Regions from separate parts of the Homo sapiens genome. Here regions 2, 3 and 4 are each linked to region 1. Evidence: promoter capture Hi-C in 16 types of primary human blood cells and fetal thymus (Javierre and others, 2016). All regions are on one chromosome and are shown on one strand. Each heading gives the region's core, a stretch centred on a gene start or on the middle of the fragment in contact. The rest is flanking DNA. Distances are from core to core; before and after follow the strand shown. Region 1 holds the start of TMEM131L (transmembrane 131 like). Region 2 overlaps TMEM131L (transmembrane 131 like). Region 3 overlaps TRIM2 (tripartite motif containing 2). Region 4 holds the start of LOC105377496 (a long non-coding RNA gene).

The links. Contacts are between HindIII fragments. The CHiCAGO score rates a contact against its expected background, and 5 or more counts as called.
Region 2: a contact is called between a fragment that was not itself captured here and the fragment with the promoter of TMEM131L in region 1, in 4 of 17 cell types (activated CD4 T cells, total CD4 T cells, erythroblasts and 1 more). The highest score is 10.9, in activated CD4 T cells.
Region 3: a fragment that was not itself captured here is called in contact with the fragment with the promoter of TMEM131L in region 1 in 1 of 17 cell types (activated CD4 T cells); the score reaches 5.8 in activated CD4 T cells.
Region 4: a fragment that was not itself captured here is called in contact with the fragment with the promoter of TMEM131L in region 1 in 1 of 17 cell types (activated CD4 T cells); the score reaches 6.1 in activated CD4 T cells.

Annotation. Positions count from the first base shown.
Region 1 is chr4:153,464,294-153,467,638 of GRCh38, forward strand. It overlaps TMEM131L (transmembrane 131 like), which reads left to right and starts at 2,067. Exons shown (of 35, transcript NM_001131007.2): 1 at 2,067-2,228; 2 at 2,918-2,988. The coding sequence starts at 2,105. RefSeq lists enhancers at 1,528-1,707, 3,078-3,345, 3,238-3,327 and silencers at 1,748-1,897, 1,938-2,037, 2,408-2,767. The HindIII fragment of the contact is 8,794 bases long and covers 1-3,345 here.
Region 2 is chr4:153,592,928-153,596,359 of GRCh38, forward strand. TMEM131L (transmembrane 131 like) reads left to right here. Exons shown (of 35, transcript NM_001131007.2): 19 at 872-944; 20 at 3,331-3,432. Among named protein-coding and RNA genes, the nearest start is that of TLR2, 90 kb to the right of the region's middle. The HindIII fragment of the contact is 2,123 bases long and covers 929-3,051 here.
Region 3 is chr4:153,221,954-153,225,349 of GRCh38, forward strand. The region is part of intron 1 of TRIM2 (tripartite motif containing 2); the gene reads left to right. Among named protein-coding and RNA genes, the nearest start is that of TRIM2, 19 kb to the left of the region's middle. RefSeq lists enhancers at 1-455, 251-580 and a silencer at 971-1,160. The HindIII fragment of the contact is 3,484 bases long and covers 1-3,161 here.
Region 4 is chr4:153,247,817-153,250,841 of GRCh38, forward strand. The region is part of intron 1 of TRIM2 (tripartite motif containing 2); the gene reads left to right. LOC105377496 (a long non-coding RNA gene) reads right to left here and starts at 723. Exons shown (of 3, transcript XR_939360.4): 1 at 604-723. RefSeq lists an enhancer at 1,866-1,915. The HindIII fragment of the contact is 5,663 bases long and covers 1-3,025 here.

The DNA of each region.
Region 1 (3,345 bases), core at 817-3,316:
TGGCACAGCAGATACATGCTTTTGGCTCTGTGAACAACAGTCAAATAGCATTACCCATTTTGTAAAGTCCACAAGACCACAACTTGAAAAATCAAGCTGGCCTTACAAAGTCTAGAAAAAGCTATAGCAGTATTTACATATGGTCCATAGCAATGTTAGTCTATCTTTTAAGTCATTTCCATTGATGCTGTGATACTCGTTAATGTGGGAAAGACTTTATTAGTAAAAGAGTAAAGTAATTTAAATGTTAGCAAAAAAGTTTTGTATCACAACTTTGAATCTGTTTAACAAAACCGGTTAGGCTGTTAATGTTTGCTTGCTTTCCTTTATACGTATTATACTCATATGAGGACTTAAAATTACATTCTGTAAATAAATAGGCCCATGAGAGAACTTTCATTTAGAAGCAAACTTTGAAGGTGCAGTTACTGCTTAAGTGGGCTGTGCAAATATTCCTGTCACTGGAGGTCCCTTTAACTGCGTGGGGGACCTTCAGAATCCAAGGGGCAAATAGAAACTTGGAGAAGTGAAGAGAAAAAAAGGGCACATTGAGATGGCACTGGAGATCCTTGCTAAATAAAGGAAGATGTTGGCAAGGAATACAGAAAAAAGTATGAAACAGAGACTACTGGAGGTATTCAAGTTGGAAAATGCAAAGTGTCCCTTTTTTTTTTTCACATCAACAACTTACGTTTATGCTAATCTACTTAAATGTTAAGTCTGGCCAAGCAATTAGACTATTTAACCTTGTTTGGAGTTAAATGCAGACAGTGTGTGAGACTGTGTTCACAGTACTGTATTACGTCTTTAGGAAAGAGGATCTAGATTTCATTTTGTCCTTCTCAGGATTGTGTCTGCTATGCAAGCACTGGTTTTCTATAGTCTGGCTTGTAAGGCACAAGGAGCAATTAAACAGAGGATTAAGGTAAACAGGTGTGTCCCATCACTTCCCCTCTTCATACTATATTGTTCATATTCTCTGAATTTCATACAAGCTACAGTGGAAGCAGTAAGTTAACTTTAAAAAATCATAAGATTGCCCATACTTCTAGGTTATGCAAATTGATTTCTGAATAAGCCCTTGTTTGCGACATCGCTGGTAAAGGCAGGATGTTAACTTAAAGAGATGCCAGATTTTGGACTTGTTAGTTATAGGCATCAAAACCTGGAACTAGGAAATGTATTTCCACGTATTACTTCCATTATCCTACTAATGTTAGAAACAGGCAACTAACCACATCCTCGACCCCAACCATATTTCAGGAGAGGCTGGCTGAATTTTGCAATATGATTCCAAAAGGGAGTATTTGCAGGGTCTTTGAAGCTATAAATCCCCTAGGAAGAGTCTTCCCCACCTGTCAGGACCTGGACAGTGTCCACAGAGGGTGCCGGGCGCACTACCGCCACGCGGCGCTGAGGTCTGCCTCTCGGGTTTTGGGAGAGCTCTTTTTATTCTAAATTACAGACTTTGCAGCCACCGGATATCCTCGCTGCATAACTGGCAGTGGCCATGTGGCTGCACTCGCGTTTCCTGACAACCACTGCATTATTTCCACTAATATCCTGTGTCCAAGGCCTCTCGCTTGGCGACTCCTCGTTCCCACCTCCACCGCCACCTCTTCCCTCGAGGGTAATCTCTCGACCGTGGCCCAAGCGCCTCGACAAAGCGGCAACCACCCAAAAGTTCATGAAAATGCACTTGGCAAAAGTGGGCCGCTAGTCCCCGCGGACAGCTCTAAGCGACCCCGTCCCAGCCGAGGAAAGCGCCCGGGCCCCGCAGAGTGCGCGCTGCGGGGCGGGCCCGCGGCCATGTGCTCCGCGCCGGGGCGGGGCACCCGCGGGTTCGCATTGTCCACTTTCCCCCGCACCCCGCCGCGTTCCGTCCCTCCCTATCTGCGGCGCACACGCGCTCAGAGCAAGCGGCGCGCCCGGGTCTGGAGCTGCAGCAGCTGCGGCAGCGGCGGGGGTGGTGCGGCGCGGGGCGGGGCGGGGCGGGGCGGGGCGGGGCGGGGCGGCACGGGGGCGGGCCCGGGGCGAGGCAGCTGGGGCGCCAGCGAGCTAGCGGCGAGCGCGGCGAGCAACGGAGAGGAGCGCGAGCAGCAGCATGGCGGGGCTCCGACGCCCGCAGCCCGGCTGCTACTGCCGCACCGCGGCGGCCGTGAACCTCCTGCTGGGCGTCTTCCAGGTCCTGCTGCCCTGCTGTCGCCCGGGAGGGGCTCAGGGACAAGGTCAGCCTTGCGCCGCTGGGCTCGCTCTGCCTCTCCACCCCGCCCCCGCTCTTTCTTTTAGGGAACTGCTGAAATCTATAAGAGGGCGAGGGGAGGAAAGGGAAAGGGGCAGGAGGAGGAAGGAAAGCTGTTGCGATTCTCCGCTGATAACATTTTCTGACCACAGCGTCCCGTCCCGCGCCTCTCTGCCCCGTACAGCTGGAGAGCGGGGCAGTCGCGGGGCTTGGGGACCGCTAGCCGCTCGCGCCCTGGAGCCTTTGTGCGCGGGCCCCTGCGCCCCGGGCGCAGCCCCCGCTTTGTGTGGCGCGCGCGGGTGCCCCGCAGCGGCCCGGCTTCCTGCAGCTTTGTTCCCCCGAGCCTGGCCGCCCAGGGTCCACACTCCAGATGCTCGGGCTGCGGAGCCCGGAGTGCCTCGTGGGGTGTCTTCACTCCCACTTCGTCCCCCCACCCCCAGCACGAGCACCCCGAGCCTGCCTGCACGCTGTCGCCTTCGCGTCCGAGGGGCCGCCGGCTCACACCCCACCCATTGTATTTTTATCCTTGGCTCGCCCCTGGGATGGCCTCTGTTCCCAGGAGGAAAAAGAGACGTGTTTTGGTGAGGCGGGGGGCACGGAGGGACGGTAGGGGAAACAGGAAGCGTTTCTTTAGCGTGCATTAAAAACGTGGTGTATTTTTTGGTGTTCCTGCAGCGATTGAGCCGTTGCCGAACGTGGTGGAGCTGTGGCAGGCAGAAGAAGGGGAACTCCTGCTGCCCACTCAGGTGAGGACGACCAGGTGACAGGGCGGCTGTGGGTGTACGAGGGAGGAGAGGCGGGGAGGCCCCCGGTCCTCCCCACCCCCTGTCCAAGCGGCACAGGCGTTCGGGCCACTTTGCAAGGCAAATAAACGTTAGGGGCCGAGCCTGAACACCTGGCAACGGTGGCCTTCCCGGCTCCTCCCACGCCATGTGACAGGGCCTGAGGCAGGCCGGCCCCAAGTTCAGAAGGTGGGAACCCAGGCCACCTCAGCAGGGAAGCGGCCAGCGGTCTGTTCGGCCGTGGGTGTCCTGGGTGCACACTGTTCCCTAAGTGAGCTGGTGCTGTGTGGATGGCAAGTGGCTAAGAGGTTGAGGACAACA
Region 2 (3,432 bases), core at 740-3,239, 130 kb after region 1:
TGTTTTAGTCCAATTGGCCCTCCATATCTGCAGGGGAATTGGTCGCAGGACCCCCTCGGATACTAAAATCTCAAGGATGTTCAAGTCCTTTAAAACCATTGATGGAAAAATTGGCCCTCCTTATTTGAGGGTTCTCCACCTGCGGTTGGTTGAACCTGCAGGTTTGGAACCTGCAGATGCAGAGGGCTGAATGTATATTCTTGTCTAGCATTAAACAGGAAGAGATGATAATTAGTTCATGTCTGTTATATCTTATTTTCACACAATCACAGTTTTACTTAGAATGTTTCCAGCTTCTCGTTTAGTAAGATCGACCCTTATCCCAGGGTTTCTCAGCTTTCGCAGTATTGGTATTTTGGACCAGATGGTTCTACCATTCTGTTTGGTGGGGGTGGGAGGAGCCATCTTGTGTGTTGAAGGATGTTTAGCAGCATTCCTGGCTTCTCCCACTAGATGCCAGTAGGAACTCCCCAGCTGTGACAACCAAAAATGTCTCCAGACGTAGCCCAGTGTTTCCCGTGGGATAAAATTGCCTTTGGTTGAGAGTCACTTTTTTTTTCAAAAAAGTTGCTTTATATTTAGAGCTTCTGTCACCATATGCTTCCTTACATCCTGTGATGCCAAAGTCATTCATTTAGCAATATTTATTGATCATTGACAATATGGCAGATATGGGTGTGGGAATGTGGGGTGGAGCTGGGTGGGAATGTGGGGTGGAATGTCGGGTGGACAGGATGGGATGAATTTTGTGTGTATGTGTGTGCAAATGTACTCACCTATGTATAAATGTATATATGTGCACACACTTATTAAATCTTTCTTTACTGGCAGATGTGAGTGCTGTTTTAAACATTTGCTTTTTTCCTTATAGGTTTGGCACTGATATGCAGATGATTAATTTCACAACTGGTGAATTCCAGCTCACCGAAGCTTGCCCTTACCTGGTAGGATGTTATCCTAAAACAGAAAAAAGAATGCCGACAAACTAGACACATGAGCATACGGGCCTCATTGATTTATGTTTAAAATGTCTTTTATTTACTATATATGGCTCTTTTATTTTGATTCTCTGGGCATTAACGATACATAGCAGATTTTTCCAGTTAACTAGTGCGGTAGGAGCTGGGTTTATGTTAGCTCTAAATCATTTTAATTTGATTATTTAGAATCATGTGAGTAAAGAAATAACAGTTGAACAGAGCTTTGTAGAAAACCATGAAACTTGAGACCCCAGAATTTATAATTCTCTTAAGATTCCTTGGCCCTCAAATTCTTTTTTAGGGCAAGATAAGGAAAAACAAATACATTAAAAAAAATCTTCTCTTACTAAACTGTGTTCCTGTTTTTAGCAAGTCACCCAATTTCTGTGATGTTTACCTTATCTATAAAAAAGGACTACTCTAAAATTCTTAAGCCTGTGGGCAGTCATGAGGTCTTGCCCAAATACTTAGGAGTAGGAGTAAACATGTCATGTGGTGAAGATGCTATTTGCCTGGGGACTTGGCAGCCTTACTTCTCAGTTTCCACTCAGTCATTCCGTGGCTATTTATATACAGCTGAGTGTTGGCCTTACAGGTATTCTGTGTTTGAGATCAATTCAAAAGTGGAGCATCTGTTGACAAAAAATACATACATACACATGTAAACTCACATATGCGGATAACTCTATTTTTACTACACTATATTTAAGCGCCTTGGGTATTTTCTTCTTTCTTTATCTTTATCCCTCCAAAAATATACTGTTGGCTCTAGATTACTTTCAATAACAGAAGGAGGGAGACCACAGATAACCCATTACCACAGACTCTCCTTTCTTTTCTTAAGTGTTGAGGCAGCACTGGGCGAGTTGGGGGGAGTGGTGAAGCCGTGCACCCAGGTGTGGTTTTATTCTTGTTAGCGAGTCTGCCCCTCTCTCTCCTTCTCATTTTCTCCACCAGGAGGTCTTCAAGGCTATTCAGGATAATTAGTCCAAAATACTAAGTGATATCTTGCCTCACTGGTATTGAATCATGTATAGCTTGAAATTCCAAAAATAATGCCCGTTTATTTTAAATCTAAATATTCTATTTAGATGTGAACAAATGATGTAACTCATTTGGAAGAAGTTTTTATCTATGACTGTTTTTCCCAAGAAATATTATATATTTTGGGATAAGAGAAATTATTACTATTGTTAATTTATTACATTGATGAAAAGAATAGTTAATATCAGTGCCTTGAAAACACTGAGTTAAAATTTAACTCAGAATTGTTATTAGAATTCTTCATCATGTAAAGAAAGGCTTCCTGCATTTTGATTTTGCTGATTTGCTTTTAGAAATATAGTTCCTTGGGTTAAGAACATTGGAGTTTTTTATATACCCTAAAAATGTCAGTGCCTGGCATATAAGAACCATTTAATAGAGGTGCTGTTTTTACTATAAGTTTAACACCAAAAGTCAGCAGCTTTTAAATTCAGTATTCATATTACCTGCGTAAAGCAGGGTTTCTTCCTTCATGGAGTTTATAATTCTAATAAAAATGAATCAAATAATCAAATACTATTACTATTCTCTTTTTCAGATGGCATGGGTAACACTAGCAATAACTGAAACATAAAATTAAAAGTTAAAAACAAAGAGAAATAATATTCTTCAGGATTATATATTAGCTCTAAGAAGTGATACATTGCATTGTTTTTAGTGAGATGGAGCTAGAAAAAGCAGTGGAAAGAGGGAAAGTCCACTTACCAAAAAGATAAAAAGAATTAAACCTTGGATACTAAACTTAGAGCACAAGTTTTATGCCAAAAAAAAAAAAAAACACGACATCTTGGAGAAAATAGAGGAAGATGTGAATAAATAAAGATCTTTCTTCTGACTGGAGATACTAAATATAATAAAGATGATTTCTATATAAACTTAAATTCAGTATAAAGAATTTATATAAAGAGATCTTTGGGTTGTCCAGTGGTGGGTGAGTGGTCTTGTCAGATTGCTCTAGCATTCAAGCAGAGGCTGTTGGGTCTGTTTTCTGATTGATGTTGTACATTCAAAGCATCTTTGTGTAGAAAGCTTCTAGCCCCAACTTCCATTCAAACCAGGAAGCAAATCCCCTCTCCAGCATCTGTGTGAGGTTGTCTTGTAGTCTCTGCCTATATTTCTTAGCTATGGCTCAGAAGCTGTTTATTGGAGTGAACTCTCAGGATAAGCAAGTTCTAACAGGTTGATTAGGAGGATCAAATCTGGACATTAAAAGAGAAGCAATCGTGTTTAAACTCTAGGATGCACTTAATGACAATGGAAGCTTGCTTTCTAGGAGTATGACATGGTTTAATTTGTTAATTTGCAGGGTACGCATTCTGAGGAATCCAGGTTTGGCATCCTCCACTTACATCTGCAGCCTTTGGAAATGAAAAGGGTTGGCGTAGTTTTCACACCTGCTGACTATGGA
Region 3 (3,396 bases), core at 170-2,669, 240 kb before region 1:
AGGAAAGAGGGAGGAAGGGAGGAAGGAAGGAAGGGAGAGAGGAAGGAAGGAAAGAAGGAAGGAAAGAGCAAGGAAGGAAGGAAAGAGCGAGGAAGGGAGGGAGGAAGGAAGGAAGGAAAGAAAGAGAGAGAGAGGAAGGGTCCCTACTCCAACTTCTTTTACGGAGTAAAAAGGCCTAAAGAGACAGTCATGACTTATCATTTGCAGGACTGATTGTATCATACTTGACTCATTTGTTAACATTCACTTGAAGGAAACGCAGAGATTTTTTTTCTTCGCTCACATTCAGGAGCTGTGCTTGCTTATAATGAACTGTCATGATGGAGGCCGGCCCGTTTCAGCTCTCTCAGCCCCGTCAAGCTGAACTCACTTCCCCTGAAAGGACAGTGTTTGCATTTGTGTTTACGGGACTGGGGAAGAGGATGCGTTTTCAGGAGACCTGAAAACCGAGCCAACCCCCTTTTCCTGCCCCGCTGTGCTGCGATTGGCCCATCTTGGAGGCTGGCTGCAGGAGCCTTTAGTCATCGCACAGGGAAATCTTTCTGGAACCGGGCACCAACTTGCGTGTTTGTTTTCATGCTCTTTGTGCGGGGATTAGCTGTCGTGCCGGGCCTGAAAATGCTGCGAGCGCCGGGCGACATCTAATCCAGGATTTGCCTCTGCCTCGCGGTTGATGGAAAACAGATGTCTTACTGCTCTGGGCCTGAGCACAGAATGGAAATGACCGACCAGAGAGCCATTTGGAGCCGAGGACACCCGGTGAAAGCCATTCAGAGTCCAGCCAGGAGGCCGACTTTCCTCCTCTGGTCTGTTTTTACTACTTGAGCCGCTCGCTCAGAAAACGGCCTTAGATAAAGCAGTTTCACCTTCAGATCGCCTGAGGCTGCAGAAGGGCGGCTGCGGGGGAGGAAGGAGGAGGCGGAGAGGAGCGGGTGCGAAGTCCTGGGTCGCCTGCCCGCTGCCTGATGTCGTGAGCTAGGGCACCTCGGCCCTGGCTGGGCGCGCAGCGAGGCCCAGGCCCGAGGGGTGAGGCCCAGGCCACTCCGGAGCGCGCGCTGTTCCCGCGAAGCGAGTCGCCGTCTCGTAGTAAGTCGTGGCTCGGGCTGTGCCCTGGGAACCCTCCCGCCCGGGCAAGGTCCGGTGGCCGGAGCGTGCGGGAAGCCTGCCCAGAGTCCATTTCCGGACGGGCGCTGCGGGGCTGGCAGCCGGCCTGGAGCGGGTGCAGTGGGTCGGCGCGGCGCAGAGCTGTCAGCAACAGGGCCGCTGAGCAGCAGAACCTGGACGCCGCGCGGCTCCCAGGCCCTGCCCGCGGAGCTCTCCCGGGAGTCGCGGACCTCTGCCGTCCTCAGTCACCCGCGTCATGCAGGATAGCTTTCAAAGTCATTTTGCAGAGAAAAAAAGATACTGAGCAATCTGAAAGCAGGACTGTAGTAATTTTGAAAAGATCGGCTTCCTCTTTTTCTTTAAAAACATGTTTGGTCATTTTCCTAAAACTACTTTCCTTCCTTTAGCCTCCTCTTTTATTCTTTGCCCCAGCTCGTACTACAGTTCGGGCTTATTAGAGCAGGGAGATGGTGACTTTTGAGGGTTTGCAGGGCTCTTTCTGGTTGGTGTATGTATTCTGAAAATACTTGCCCGGTGTTGAAAGCTGCATGCCGCTGACAAAGTAGATAAAAAGCTGGGAGTGTGGAGGACGGTTCGTCTCACTAAATGCCTGTCAGATCCAAAGCATTCTGTGAACCCCAAATTCGTTCCGACCTGTAATCCAACCCCATGGAGCAACTGATGCCTTCCACCAGGCCCCTTTGCTTTCCCGGGAAATCACCAGCTTTAATTTATGGAACAGAGACAGCTTTAGATTCAAAGACTTTTAAAGAGTTAATTTTAGAGCACTTAGAATTCCAGCCATCCAAAGATTAGGCTAGCCCCTTAGGGTGTGAGGGGTTGTTCTTGCAGCAGTATGCACATCTATGCCTTTTTTCATTGTTTTCTTCTAAAAATGGAGATTAAATTTTACATCAATATTTTTAGAATGTAGTTAAGAGTTGTTGCCTGACAACTTGTATTGAGGGTTCCTTTCCCAGGGGGTGGGAGGAGGTATTGTGCTGGGTCCACTGCTTCCCAGCTCCACGTGACCTTTCCTCTCAAATTTCCACTTGATTTCATCTTTGGCAGAACTGGTACCTGCCCTTCAGCTCCAAGAAACAAAAGAGCAGGGGTGAGTCAGAAGGCTTTGACTACCTCACCCTTAACTAGAGATAGAAAGTACTTGATTAAATTCTTTGTGATACACATTGCATTTCCTTCCCTTTCCAACTTAGGTTCATATAACAATGAAGGATCAATTAAAATGAACTCCACCTCCCTTCTCCCTTAGGGTAAATATGGATTCCCTTAGGGCTGAGTTGGGCAGGGCCATCTACACTAATGAAAAGTCTTCTAGGTGAGGTAATCTGGCCTGTTCTGGGCTAGGTACAGAACACCACATCCCATTTGCCCTCATTAACTCATTCTTTTAACTCATTCTTTTCCTGGCAGCCTCCCTTTTCTTTCTATCCTTTTCTGTATAATCCCATTTAGCTACCCACCATAACTCTACTTTGGATCATGGAATCTAGGATACCATCACTGACAAGGTTTGTTTAGATGACTGTCTCTTATCAGTATTCCCTGAGAACATTTTTCCAATTCCTGCCTTTATTTTCCTGGAAAATTCTATGTCGATTAAATCCTCCACTAGAAATTCCATTGTATCTGTCAAAAATAAGCATCACACTCACATCTTGAATATTTTTCTTGCATCATCATTTTAATGCTGACTTGCACAGCTTCCTGATTTCTACTTCAAATTTAAATACAAATGGAAGGAAGTTGTTATAAGACACTAAATATAAATGGGTTAGATAGTCTCAGTGAGAATTAACATCTTATTCTCTGACCTTTTCTTTAGTCTGTCCTTGGGTTGAATTCTATCCTTTCAATTTCTGACCATTGACTACTCTAGAAAGAGGTTGGATAGTTATTTTGTGTGTCAGGAATGATCTGTTTACTTGGCCTTTTCTGAGCAGCAGTTACTCACTACCTCTCCTAGTGCTGATTGGTAAGAATTTGGCCTATTCAATGATGATAACTCAACGGGGTAATATAGCAAGGCCCTAGGAAGCTTTGAAAATGACATCTTGAAGCCCTGAAATCCTGGTGCAATAACATTATCAGAACTTTCTCCTTCTTTCACCACTCCATGAAAAATGACACTGCTTGGTTTATATCAAATATGTCTTAGATTATAAATTCCCAAAGACAGCTTTAGCTTGATTTGTACAGGTACTAAAAGTTTATGCTGGCGGGTCAGCACCTGGCAAATGCTTTTGATGCTGCTACTAATGATGAAGACAG
Region 4 (3,025 bases), core at 235-2,734, 220 kb before region 1:
ATGCCCAAAAAAACCCCACAAATGCTTACTGAATCCTTAAATGAGCCCAGCTCCAGGAGTAAAAAAAGTGAATTATCAGTCATTTCTAAAGGAACTCATAAATCTAGTAGTGGCCATAATAATGATAGTAATAATTTATGTTCTGACTGCTTATGATGCATCAGGCATTGGATCATGTGTTTTTTTTTTTTTTTTTTGAGATGGAGTCTCGCTCTGTCCCCCAGGCTGGAGTGCGGTGACACAGTCTCTGCTCACTGGCGCGTCCGCCTCTGGGATTCAAGCGATTCTTGTGCTTCAGCCTCCTGAATAGCTGGGATTACAGGCGCCTGCCACCATGCCCGGCTAATTTTTATACTTTTAATAGAGACAGGGTTTCACCATGTTGGCCAGGCTAGTCTTGAACTCCTGAGCTCAGGTGATCCACCTGTCTCAGCCTCCCAAAGTGCTGAGATTACAGGCGTGAGCCACCGCACCCGGCCTAGATCAGGTTCTTTACATAGACTAAACAAACCATTTCCTTCTCCTAACAACGCTATGTAGTCAGTACCCTTGTCATCCCCCGTACACTTGAGGTAATTGAGGAATACAGGTTAAATTACTTACCCAGGGTTATACAACTTGTAAGTGGCAGAGCCAGGATCCAAACCCATTCTTGGCTCTAGAGCCCATCCTCTTCTCCACTACCGCACCTGAGACTTACTGTGTGTTAGGCATGGGGCTGACAGTGACACACTGGATCATTTAATCATCACAATGGCATTAGGAGGTAGCATTTTACAAACGAGCTAACAGACAGGCAAGGAGCAACCTGCAGATAAAGCAAATCCAGATATGTCTCCAGAGCCCGTGCCTTAATCGCAGATGCATTCTGACTTTCATCATAGGATTCTAATCGTGGATGAAAGTGACCCTGAGTTGTAGTGCCAGGCAGGTTGCTTAGGAAAATACTCTTCTGGTAACATGTTGGAGGGGCAGCCTTCTGAGGATGGTGTCAGATTCCCCTGTCCTCTGATTAGCTCCCTCTGCCAAGGTGCCCAGGCTCCTACTTCAGTGTCACCTCCAGGTTTCAAAGCATGGAAACCCAAGCATGTTACTCGGAGAAAGTCCCACCCCCAGCATGGGCGCATCGGCTTAGAACCCTCCAGGGTTAGCAGGCAAAGAGCTGTGGACCCCGGACACGGGAAAAGGCCACAGTCGGGAGAACTCCTGTTGCTGGAGGGCCAGGCGGGGGCGATCCCCAGGGCTCCCAGCTTTTAATGCTGTCACCGCGGGCCTTACTCCCTCCTCTTCCCCACATCGCCACCACTTGAATCAGTTCTTTTACAAAGTGGTTCTATTTCCTGGTGAGACAAAAAGGTTAGAAAAGGAAACCTAGAGGGGGTGGGGGAAAGACAGAGGTTCGGAATACCGGCGCGCAATCGCCATCTGGGTGGAGGGGACCCGCCTTCTTTTCTTCCGCCTGAGCGCAGCTCGGCTCCCGCCTCGGGGCGGGGCCTGTTGCTATGGAGCCCGGGCCCCGGCAGAGCCTGCGGGGTGAAAGCCCCTAGGGCTCCGCCTGGCATGCGTGGCCGGGGCTGTCTGAGATTTCCCCAGGTCGGTGGTTATGACCGCAGGATGGAATCGTAGAGGTCGGGTGATTTGGTCAGTAGAGAGGAACATTTGCGAGGTTCTCTCTGAATTACATGTTGGTCTAAAAGTAATCCACTATCTGGGACCGAGAGGAAAGCATGTGTGGAAGAGGCAGGCATTATTAGCAGCGCGTCCGCCTCGGCCACCTCCCTGCTCCCGCCTCGGCCACCTCCCTGCTCCCGCCCCGGCCCTGGGGGCCTCTGTTCAGCCTCCACCAGCTCAGTCGCCCACGGAGACTCCCGAACTCTTAAATCCCAGCCCTGTAGTCAAAACCACTGCATTAATTAAACAAGGTAAACTGGTGAGGCAAGCAGGAACTTGACACCGCCTTGAATTTAATTGTTAAAATGAGAAGTGTGGTAATGGAGCTCTGCTTAAGAGAAAAACAATACTTGATACCGATGTGCACATCGATGTGGACACGGATGCAATCAGGAACCCATAGTTAGCACCGGGAGATTACATTCCGGGTATACTCAAGATAGATAGAGTCAACTTTGAATTCTCGAGGCCAAGCAATGGGCGAAACAAAAGAGCTTTGTGTTTGCGTGCTTTTGCTTTTTGTTACAGTCAGAGCAGGACAAAGAATAATGAAGGAGTAGACATGTTATTACTTGGGCATTTAATAATCAGTGCATGGCAGAGCCTTGTGTTTTGCTTGTCTTTTTTTTTTTCTTTTCTTTTCTTTTTTAAAGACAGGGCCTCACTCTGTCACCCAGACTGGAGTACAGAGGCCCCATCTCAGCTTACTACAACCTCAGCTTCTTGGGTTCAAGTGATTCTCCTGCCTCAGCCTCCCAAGTAGCTGGGACTACAGGCACGCGCCACCATGCCTGGCTAATTTATGTATTTTTAGTAGTGACGGGGTTTTGCCATGTTGACCAGGCTGGTCTCGAGCGCCTGATCTCAAGGGATCTGCCCACCTTGGCCTCCAAAAGTGCTGGGATTACAGGCGTGAGCCACCACACCAGGCCTACTTCAGTCTTTTCTACAAAACTACAGAACTCCCTATCAAGAGTAATGCTAGAGAAGGAATATTAATGGGATGGTTTGTTAGTACCTAGAAAAAAAAGCATCCTGAGTTCCATAAGAATAAATGATACCAGACCAACCAAAATTCCTCCTTGGATAGGGTTGCTGGGCATGAATTTATGTCCAATATGAGTCAATATGAGAAAAGTGCCAGGACCTCAGAGGTAATTAATAGAAGGATAGAGCCTGGAGCAAGCAAAGTGATGGTCTTGCTCTGCTCTGTGCTGGGCAGATCCCACCTGGATATGTCTTCAGTTTGGGGCAGCTCCCTGTGGGAAACATACTGGGCAGGGAGTCAGGGGTGCTTGACCTGGGTCACCTTTACTGCAAATACAGCCCGGCTGCAAAGGGCTATCCTGATCCT